Regions from separate parts of the Homo sapiens genome. Here all the other regions are linked to region 1. Evidence: promoter capture Hi-C in human tissues and cell types (Jung and others, 2019). All regions are on one chromosome and are shown on one strand. Each heading gives the region's core, a stretch centred on a gene start or on the middle of the fragment in contact. The rest is flanking DNA. Distances are from core to core; before and after follow the strand shown.

The links. Contacts are between HindIII fragments. The study calls those that stand out against the background at their distance.
Region 2: a fragment that was not itself captured here is called in contact with the fragment with the promoter of SOX2 in region 1 in 1 of the 25 tissues and cell types used here (pancreas).
Region 3: a fragment that was not itself captured here is called in contact with the fragment with the promoter of SOX2 in region 1 in 1 of the 25 tissues and cell types used here (lymphoblastoid cells).

What each region holds. Positions count from the first base shown.
Region 1 is chr3:181,710,605-181,713,910 of GRCh38, forward strand. It overlaps SOX2 (SRY-box transcription factor 2), which reads left to right and starts at 1,321. Exons shown (of 1, transcript NM_003106.4): 1 at 1,321-3,306. The coding sequence starts at 1,757. The coding sequence ends at 2,710. The region is part of intron 6 of SOX2-OT (SOX2 overlapping transcript); the gene reads left to right. RefSeq lists enhancers at 1-603, 604-1,456, 1,457-2,310, 2,311-3,162, a promoter at 549-1,582 and a silencer at 1,162-1,221. The HindIII fragment of the contact is 19,833 bases long and covers 1-3,306 here.
Region 2 is chr3:182,719,715-182,723,504 of GRCh38, forward strand. No RefSeq gene overlaps it. Among named protein-coding and RNA genes, the nearest start is that of ATP11B-DT, 72 kb to the right of the region's middle. The HindIII fragment of the contact is 5,156 bases long and covers 1-3,790 here.
Region 3 is chr3:180,640,799-180,644,123 of GRCh38, forward strand. It overlaps CCDC39 (coiled-coil domain 39 molecular ruler complex subunit), which reads right to left. Exons shown (of 20, transcript NM_181426.2): 12 at 3,322-3,325; 13 at 1,195-1,403. Among named protein-coding and RNA genes, the nearest start is that of CCDC39, 37 kb to the right of the region's middle. The HindIII fragment of the contact is 4,981 bases long and covers 1-3,325 here.

The DNA.
Region 1 (3,306 bases), core at 71-2,570:
GCCCCTACCCCCGCCCCCATCTCATCCTCCTCTAACCCGGGCCTTGCTGGGCTCCCCCTTCCCCAGTCCCGGCCGCCTTCTCCCAGTGTGCGCTGCCTGCACCTGTGCCTGGAGAGCATCGACCCCGCCTCCCAGGCCTTGAGCCCCTTTGCGGCGCAGCCCCAGCCTTGCGCGGCCTGGGCTTTGCGGCCACCACAATGGAAATCTACGGGGAAAATGCCAGGGCTGGTTCTGCTGGAGTCCTGGGAACTCTGCGTGGGAGGGAGTTTGTGACTGCGGCCCAAAAGCCACCTCCATACAGTGCCGTGGGATGCCAGGAAGTTGAAATCACCCTCCCCCATCGCCTGCACTTTTGAGCGCCCTTCCGTCTGTGTCTTTCCCCAGCCCCCATTTGAAAGCCGCACGACCGAAACCCTTCTTACGGGGAGGCATGGGATGGGAATGGGGAGTGGGGGCAGACAGTAGAAGCATCCCCTTTGCTACGGTTGAATGAAGACAGTCTAGTGGGAGATGTGGCTGGGGCTAAGAGGAAGAGCTGCAGTTTCCTGGGCCAAAGAGCTGAGTTGGACAGGGAGATGGCAGCTTACCAAGGCCTGCTGGTTCTCAGCTCTAGAGTCTGCCTTATGGTCCGAGCAGGATTTATTTTTAAGAACAGAGCAAGTTACGTGGAAGCAAGGAAGGTTTTGAGGACAGAGGTTTGGGTCTCCTAACTTCTAGTCGGGACTGTGAGAAGGGCGTGAGAGAGTGTTGGCACCTGTAAGGTAAGAGAGGAGAGCGGAAGAGCGCAGTACGGGAGCGGCACCAGAGGGGCTGGAGTTGGGGGGGAGTGCTGTGGATGAGCGGGAGAACAATGACACACCAACTCCTGCACTGGCTGTTTCCAGAAATACGAGTTGGACAGCCGCCCTGAGCCACCCACTGTGCCCTGCCCCACCCCCGCACCTTAGCTGCTTCCCGCGTCCCATCCTCATTTAAGTACCCTGCACCAAAAAGTAAATCAATATTAAGTTTAAAGAAAAAAAAACCCACGTAGTCTTAGTGCTGTTTACCCACTTCCTTCGAAAAGGCGTGTGGTGTGACCTGTTGCTGCGAGAGGGGATACAAAGGTTTCTCAGTGGCTGGCAGGCTGGCTCTGGGAGCCTCCTCCCCCTCCTCGCCTGCCCCCTCCTCCCCCGGCCTCCCCCGCGCGGCCGGCGGCGCGGGAGGCCCCGCCCCCTTTCATGCAAAACCCGGCAGCGAGGCTGGGCTCGAGTGGAGGAGCCGCCGCGCGCTGATTGGTCGCTAGAAACCCATTTATTCCCTGACAGCCCCCGTCACATGGATGGTTGTCTATTAACTTGTTCAAAAAAGTATCAGGAGTTGTCAAGGCAGAGAAGAGAGTGTTTGCAAAAGGGGGAAAGTAGTTTGCTGCCTCTTTAAGACTAGGACTGAGAGAAAGAAGAGGAGAGAGAAAGAAAGGGAGAGAAGTTTGAGCCCCAGGCTTAAGCCTTTCCAAAAAATAATAATAACAATCATCGGCGGCGGCAGGATCGGCCAGAGGAGGAGGGAAGCGCTTTTTTTGATCCTGATTCCAGTTTGCCTCTCTCTTTTTTTCCCCCAAATTATTCTTCGCCTGATTTTCCTCGCGGAGCCCTGCGCTCCCGACACCCCCGCCCGCCTCCCCTCCTCCTCTCCCCCCGCCCGCGGGCCCCCCAAAGTCCCGGCCGGGCCGAGGGTCGGCGGCCGCCGGCGGGCCGGGCCCGCGCACAGCGCCCGCATGTACAACATGATGGAGACGGAGCTGAAGCCGCCGGGCCCGCAGCAAACTTCGGGGGGCGGCGGCGGCAACTCCACCGCGGCGGCGGCCGGCGGCAACCAGAAAAACAGCCCGGACCGCGTCAAGCGGCCCATGAATGCCTTCATGGTGTGGTCCCGCGGGCAGCGGCGCAAGATGGCCCAGGAGAACCCCAAGATGCACAACTCGGAGATCAGCAAGCGCCTGGGCGCCGAGTGGAAACTTTTGTCGGAGACGGAGAAGCGGCCGTTCATCGACGAGGCTAAGCGGCTGCGAGCGCTGCACATGAAGGAGCACCCGGATTATAAATACCGGCCCCGGCGGAAAACCAAGACGCTCATGAAGAAGGATAAGTACACGCTGCCCGGCGGGCTGCTGGCCCCCGGCGGCAATAGCATGGCGAGCGGGGTCGGGGTGGGCGCCGGCCTGGGCGCGGGCGTGAACCAGCGCATGGACAGTTACGCGCACATGAACGGCTGGAGCAACGGCAGCTACAGCATGATGCAGGACCAGCTGGGCTACCCGCAGCACCCGGGCCTCAATGCGCACGGCGCAGCGCAGATGCAGCCCATGCACCGCTACGACGTGAGCGCCCTGCAGTACAACTCCATGACCAGCTCGCAGACCTACATGAACGGCTCGCCCACCTACAGCATGTCCTACTCGCAGCAGGGCACCCCTGGCATGGCTCTTGGCTCCATGGGTTCGGTGGTCAAGTCCGAGGCCAGCTCCAGCCCCCCTGTGGTTACCTCTTCCTCCCACTCCAGGGCGCCCTGCCAGGCCGGGGACCTCCGGGACATGATCAGCATGTATCTCCCCGGCGCCGAGGTGCCGGAACCCGCCGCCCCCAGCAGACTTCACATGTCCCAGCACTACCAGAGCGGCCCGGTGCCCGGCACGGCCATTAACGGCACACTGCCCCTCTCACACATGTGAGGGCCGGACAGCGAACTGGAGGGGGGAGAAATTTTCAAAGAAAAACGAGGGAAATGGGAGGGGTGCAAAAGAGGAGAGTAAGAAACAGCATGGAGAAAACCCGGTACGCTCAAAAAGAAAAAGGAAAAAAAAAAATCCCATCACCCACAGCAAATGACAGCTGCAAAAGAGAACACCAATCCCATCCACACTCACGCAAAAACCGCGATGCCGACAAGAAAACTTTTATGAGAGAGATCCTGGACTTCTTTTTGGGGGACTATTTTTGTACAGAGAAAACCTGGGGAGGGTGGGGAGGGCGGGGGAATGGACCTTGTATAGATCTGGAGGAAAGAAAGCTACGAAAAACTTTTTAAAAGTTCTAGTGGTACGGTAGGAGCTTTGCAGGAAGTTTGCAAAAGTCTTTACCAATAATATTTAGAGCTAGTCTCCAAGCGACGAAAAAAATGTTTTAATATTTGCAAGCAACTTTTGTACAGTATTTATCGAGATAAACATGGCAATCAAAATGTCCATTGTTTATAAGCTGAGAATTTGCCAATATTTTTCAAGGAGAGGCTTCTTGCTGAATTTTGATTCTGCAGCTGAAATTTAGG
Region 2 (3,790 bases), core at 103-2,602, 1.0 Mb after region 1:
TATATAACCACACAGACAAACAGAATAAGATCCAGTAGTTATAAAACTTACATTTGCCAATTTCCCAATTAGATTATTGGCCTCTGGGTGAGGCCCTATAAGAACAGGGCTAGGAGTACAATTTCCAGGGCCTAATAAACAAGCATAGCCAGAAGACAAGGACAGATTTGGAGAGGTACTTACTCACCTCTAATTCCAGGGGTTCCATAAGGAAAACAGAGATTTTTCCCAGAATGGAATTTGTGGCACCTTTTCTGATGTCCCAAGGCAGCCCAGGCCACCAGAAGTCATTCTAGGGGCTTTCATGCATGCAACAAGAGTGGCAAGACAGAGTGGAGAAAAGTAATTCAGTCGAGTGAGAAAAAAAACCTTTTCCAGGAAAACTAGATTTATGAAGAGAAAAACATGAAGGCCTTTTGGATGTACTTATAGCTTGGATATCCATTTTTAATTAAGCTGAGTGCTCTTTAAGAAAATCCTTTTTCACGAATTAACACTTTGCAGATAAGATAAGCAGTAATTCTTACCATTTGTTTTTCCAGTTTGCACCACTACCTGTTCACAATTATGTTCAGGTTCTCCAGTTTTCTCTGGGAGAAAGTGACTGGGCTCAGGCAAGGGTGGGTTTTTAACTGGCCTGCAGATCCCTTTAGCAGCAAAGCTTGATATTTGAGGAGGCAATTGTCTGTTAGCCAGAGACTTTCCTTAGTGGACAACATTCCTGTTATATTGTGTGGGGTTAAACAGCGAAGTTATTTCTTTTTTTTTTTTTTTTTTTTTTTTTTTGAGACGGAGTCTCGTTCTGTCACCCAGGCTGGAGTGCCTTGGCGCGATCTCGGCTCACTGCAAGCTCCACCTCCCGGGTTCACGCCATTCTCCTGCCTCAGCCTCCCGAGTAGCTGGGACTACAGGCGCCCGCCATCACGCCCGGCTAATTTTTTTGTATTTTTAGTAGAGACGGGGTTTCATCGTGTTAACCAGGATGGTCTCGATCTCCTGACCTCGTGATCCGCCCGCCTCGGCCTCCCAAAGTGCTGGGATTACAGGCGTGAGCCACCGCGCCTGGCACAGCTAAGTTATTTCCCATGGTTAACCCAGAGGTTTCTGGCACCAGCAAAGCCACCACTGTAACTGCTTGGAGGCAGGCTGACTATTCTTAAGCCACCAAGTTAAGATCCTTGCTTAAGTAACCCACTGGCTGTTGAGCTGGACCTCAAGCCCTAGTTAAAACTTTCAGGGCTATTTTCTTCCTTTTCAATACATAAAGATTAAATACCTTCCCTATGGGAAGACTAAGAACTGGTCCTTTTTTTGGGGGGGAGACCGAGTCTCGCTCTGTCGCCAGGCTGGAGTGCAGTGGCGCTATCTCGGCTCACTGCAACCTCTGCCTCCTGGGTTCAAGCGATTCTCCTGCCTCAGCCTCCCTAGTAGCTGGGACTACAGACACGTGCCACCACGCTCAGCTAATTTTTGTATTTTTAGTAGAGACGGGGTTTCACCATGTTGGCCAGTATGGTCTTGATCTCTTGACTTTGTGATCCACCCTCCTCAGCCTCCCAAATTGCTGGCATTACAGGCGTGAGCCACCTCACCTGGCCAGAACTGTTGCTTTAAGTAAGGCTTGCTTTAGCTAGTTTAAGGCTTTTGTGTTTTTAGGTTCCTAAAGGGGGTTGAGTTTTAACTGTCTGAGTTTCTTTTATGAGGTGGTATAAAGGATGAGCTACTTTCCTGTGCCCAGGTACTTACAGTCTACAAAATCCAATAATGCCTAAGAATTTTCTTAACTGTTAAAGGAAATGGGCTTAATCCTTTCCTCACCAGGTGCTCTGCTCCCTTTTGATAAGACCAGAACTAGGTACTTTGCTGAATTCTGAGAGAGCTGAGCTTTAGATTTTGAGACCCTATTCTTCTTTTTTTTTTTTTTTTTTTTTTGAGACAGAGTTTCACTATTGTTGTCCAGGCTGGACTGCAATGGTGTGATCTCGGCTCACTGCAACCTCCTCCTTTTGGGTTCAAGAGATTCTCCTGCCTCAGCCTCCTGAGTAGCTGGGATTACAGGTGCCCATCACCATGCCCAGCTAATTTTTTTTTTTTGTATTTTTAGTAGAGACAGGTTTCACCATGTTGGCCAGGCTGGTCTCGAACTCCTGTCCTCAAGTGATCCACCCACCTAGGCCTCCCAAAGTTCTGGGATTACAAGCGTGAGCCACCGCGCCCGGCCAACCCTATACTTCTTTTAGCTAAGAAATTGAGGAGAGTCTAAGTGCCTTCCTGAGACTTTCTTGATTGGGGCACAGAGGAAAGTGTCATTTACACACTGCAAGACCCTGACCTGAGGATGGGAGAACTTAGAAAGGTCCTTTGACAGTGCTTGTCCAAACAAGTGAGGGCTGTTTTGAAATCCCTCAGGCAGCACCATCCATGTTAACTGGGCGGTCTGACTGGGGGGAATCCTCAAAGGCAAACAGGTATTGAGAGTCAGGATGTAACAGTATGCAGAAAAAGGCATCCTTTAAATTTAGGACTATAAACCATTTAGTTTCCTGCGGTATCTGTGTCAGCAAGGTGCAGGGATTAGGGACCACTGGATGAATTGGGACTATGGCCTCATTCATGAGACGAAGGTCCTGAACTAGGCTCCATTCCCCATTGGGCTTTTGCACTCCTAGTATCGGAGTGTTGCAAGGACTGCTGCAGGGTCTGAGGAGGCCCTGCATTTTCAGGTTATTAATAATAGCTTCTAGCCCTTTCCTGGCTTCTGGCCTTAGGGGATATTGTCTCAGGTTAGGAAAAGAAGGTGCATTTGAACTGGCCTAGCAGTTTTAGCTCAACCCACTCTTTCTTGAGTTGCCCACACTTTTAGATTAATATTGGCTTCCACTAAGAGAAGACAAAGAGTTTATCCTGGGGCCATGAGGATGTAGACCCCCATGTGGGCTGAAATGTCTCTATCTAATGAACGAGTGGGAAGGTCAGGCATAATCAAGAAGGTATGTGTAGATAATAAGTACCCACAACTACAGCTAAGGGGTTGAGAGAAATGTCGGATTAGAGTCTTTGCTGAGATACCCACCACGGTTGTGCTATGGGAAGAGGGGAGGCCTGGATTGGAGAGGACAGAGAGACTAGCTTCAGTATCCAGGAGGAGGCCCACCCTCCTCCCTTCAATTTCCAGAATCACCCAGGGCTGCTGAGCATGATGGCAGCCTGAGCCGCTGGAGCCGGGGGTTTGGGCCCCAGAATCCATCAGTCCTGCTGGATCCTCTGTGAGACTGGTTCTGGACCAGGTGACTTCTGTCCCCAGGGGCAGTCTGATCTCCAGTGATCTCCACCACATGCTGGACAGCATTGAGGTGGCTTTTTCTTGTTGCCTAGGCAATTCTTAAAGTGCACTAGCTTGCCACACTGATAGTGATGAGTGGATGCTCCCTGGGGATGCTGAATTCTGCAAGGCTGCAAAGCGGCCACTAGAGCCTTAGTCTTTCTCTTGTGCTTCTCTTTTTCTCCTGGGCCTCCTCCCGGTCCCTATTGTAAAAGACCGAAGTGTCCAACTTCAGGAGGTCTTCCAAGGTACTACCCGGTCCTATGGCCTGTTTCTGTAGCTTCCTTCTAATATCTGGAGCTGCCTGCTTTTCAGCTGCAGTGTGGGTTTGGCTTAGAAGCAGCATAACGTCCCTGCATGTGAGGTAAAGCACTTGAGTTACATTTTGGAAGGCCTCAATATACCTATCAGGGTCATCAGAAAACCAGCCCAAGTCTCCCTTTATTTGCCTAGGGTTCTGTAATGAGG
Region 3 (3,325 bases), core at 217-2,716, 1.1 Mb before region 1:
GAAAACTTCAGGCTCCCAATGGCTTTTTTTTCCAGTGGGGTCTTTGAAAAACAAAAAAGATATAATTCCACTCTTTTAGAAACATATTCAATGTATAGAAAAATAAGAAATACACACAAGTCATTTTATGAAGTCAGACATAACCTTAATAGCCTGATACCCTGACAAGGACAGTAGAGCAAGGAGAATTATGGGTCATTTATACACATGAACATAGATGCAAAAATTGTATTAAAATATTCCCTAACAAAATCTAGATGTATGCAAAAGATAATATGTAACAGACAAGTTGGGTTTATTCTAGAATGTAAGGTTGGTTTGACTTTGAAAAATTGATCAATATGATTAAACACAACAGATTGAAGAAGATACATCTTGTCAATAAGTGCTGAGAAAGCATATAATAAAAGTCAACATCCATTCTTGATTAAACAAAATAACTTCTTAGTAAAGGATAAAAATAGATAGGAGCTCAATGTGGTAAAAGGTATCTAAAAAATAGAAATAAACTACAGTAAACCTTATATTTAATGCAAAAACAATGAAAGCTTTCCCTTTGAGATCAGATAATAAGACAAGGATACCTGTAATCAACACTGCTCTTCAGTATTGAACTGGGGAAAAAAGAAAAGTTATAAAGATTGGAAAGCAAGAAATAAAACTGTTATTATTTGAAAATAATATAAATGAAATACAGTATATAGAAAATTAGAATGTACTGATTGTTAGAACAAGATTGTTAAGCAGGGTTGCTGAATACTTAATATACAGAAATTAACTGCATTTCTACATACCAGCAGCAAACCAAAAATGAAATTGACAGTAACATTAAAGAAAAAACATGTAGCCAGAAATAATCTTATAAAAGATGTGCAAAATCACTTCAATAGATGCAGCTATTGAATATCTATTTTTAAAAAGACGTGTTATTGGACTTTACCACAAACCATACATAAAAAGCAATTCCAAGTAGATTAGTGATCTTAATGTAAAAGGGACAATCTAAAGAATGAAGAATTAACCAAAAGAAGAGCCTAGATTTATGGCTATAACATGCCCTATGTCTTTCTTATATGAAAAGCCATTTCGAATGAGTAAAAACGATGCACATCCGGGATGTTAGAGGGGGCAGCTAGTTCTCCTGACATCATCCTGTTTTTTTAATTCCTCAGCAGTTTTAAAACTGAAAATTACCTTATGTTTTCCCGTTCTTGATCAACATATCTTATTTGTGACGCAAGCATTGTTTTATGAACCTTGATTTCTTCAGTTCGCTCTTCCATTGCTGTGTATAATTGCTGTTTTCTTTTTTCTAGGGAAAGAACTTCTTCTGCCTTACTGTGAAGCATTTCTCGAGTACGCTTAACTTCAAGTTTTAAAAGATTGTCCTCTATCATCAAATCCTATCAACGTAACAAAATGGTCAAATATTGAAATTATTTTTAATTGCAAAACCAAAATTTTTTTTATTGCTATATAAGTAAAACTTGAAAATATACCTTTTTCCAATTTAACCATTGACTAAGATATTAGCTAGGCCTAAAATTGATCATAGTTTTTTTTTTTCTTTTAAGAAAAGGGTTTATAGTTATTCCAAATCTTTTTCATAATTCAATTTTAAAGTCAAGCTTTGCTATTATAAAAAACAAAGGGAAGAAGTTATTCCTGAAGTTAAACTTACGCTATCCAAAAAACATAAAGCCCTATGAATGGCCATTTTTATACTCTGAATCTCACAAAATAATGTGGAAATATATTTTTATTTTAAAACAATTCAGTCGTGAATAGAGTACTGACATAAGAGTACACATATCAATCAATTTTCAGAATAGAAACCCCAGAAAAAAACACTCCAGGATATAAGATTTTATTGTTTCATAAACGTGGCTTTTCATTTGGAGAGATTAGATACTTACATCTCACGTGCACCAAAAATATATTCTAGATGAATGAAAAATCTTAAGAGATGAAATCAACGTAACTACTAGAAATAGTAAACATTTGTCTGATTTTTAGTGTAACCAAGAAGTTTCTAAGCATAAAAATTAAAAAGAAAAAAAAACTAAGAGATTTGATGTTTTAAAAAAAGTTTTGTGTCACAAACACTGAATAAAAATGTAAAGGTAAATGGGGAAAATATTTACAATATTTATGACAGAGATAATTTTTTTTTTTTTTTGAGACGGAGTCTTACTCTGTCGCCCAGGCTGGAGCGCAGTGGTGCGATCTCCGCTTACTGCAAGCCCCACCTCCTGGGTTCACGCCATTCTCCTGCCTCAGCCTCCGGAGTAGCTGGGACTATAGGCGCCCGCCACCACGCCCGGCTAATTTTTTGTATTTTTAGTAGAGATGGGGTTTCACCATGTTAGCCAGGATGGTCTCGATCTCCTGACCTCATGATCCACCCGCCTCGGCCTCCCAAAGTGCTGGGATTACAGGTGTGAGCCACCGTGCCCGGCCGACAGAGACAATATTTTTACATATGAAAATCTTTTATAATTTATATATGTAAACTTCCCAGCGGAAAAAAAATGGGCCAAGAATACAAACTAGAGCTCCAAAGAAAAAAAATATGGAACATGACATAACAGAGAAAAGTGTTTTAAACATTTTTATTTAAACATAAATGTTTGAAAATGTATCATTAAACAAAATATTTTTAAACCACCAATTTTAAAAATGCAGACTAAAACAATGAGATACCATGTTTATCAAATTGGCAACAATTTTTTAAATTAGGATATCCAGCCTCAGTGGTAGTGAATAAAATAGAATGCTTACATACTACTGATAGGAGTATTAATGGTACCCTCTAGAAGAGAATTGGGCTTAAAAATTGTTTCAAGACGCTAAAAATATTCATTTCTTTCTGAATCATAATTATATAGCTAGGAATTTATCCAAAGGAACTAACTGAATAACTGCACAATGAACAACTAATTGAACAACTGCACTGTACATGTAGTACTATTTACAATAGCCAAGCATTAGAAAGAAACAAAAATCTAAAAAATAGGGGATGGTTAAATAAACTATGGTAATTTCATGCAATGGACTTATAGAAAGCCTTCAAAAATGTTTTTGAAAGAATAGTTAATGTTTTAGGAAGCATATGATATATAGAAATTTTTTAATACAACATAAAAAGCCAAATTTCTTTACAAGACTGGAGGGAAATTATAGACTTTAACACTGTTTATATTGGGTATAGTGATTATAGTGACATTTTCTTTTTCATAATTTGCTATATTTTTTCATTTGTCTACAATTAACATGGAAACATGGTTTTCAATACTACATATGCATACAATTTTACTGCACCTGC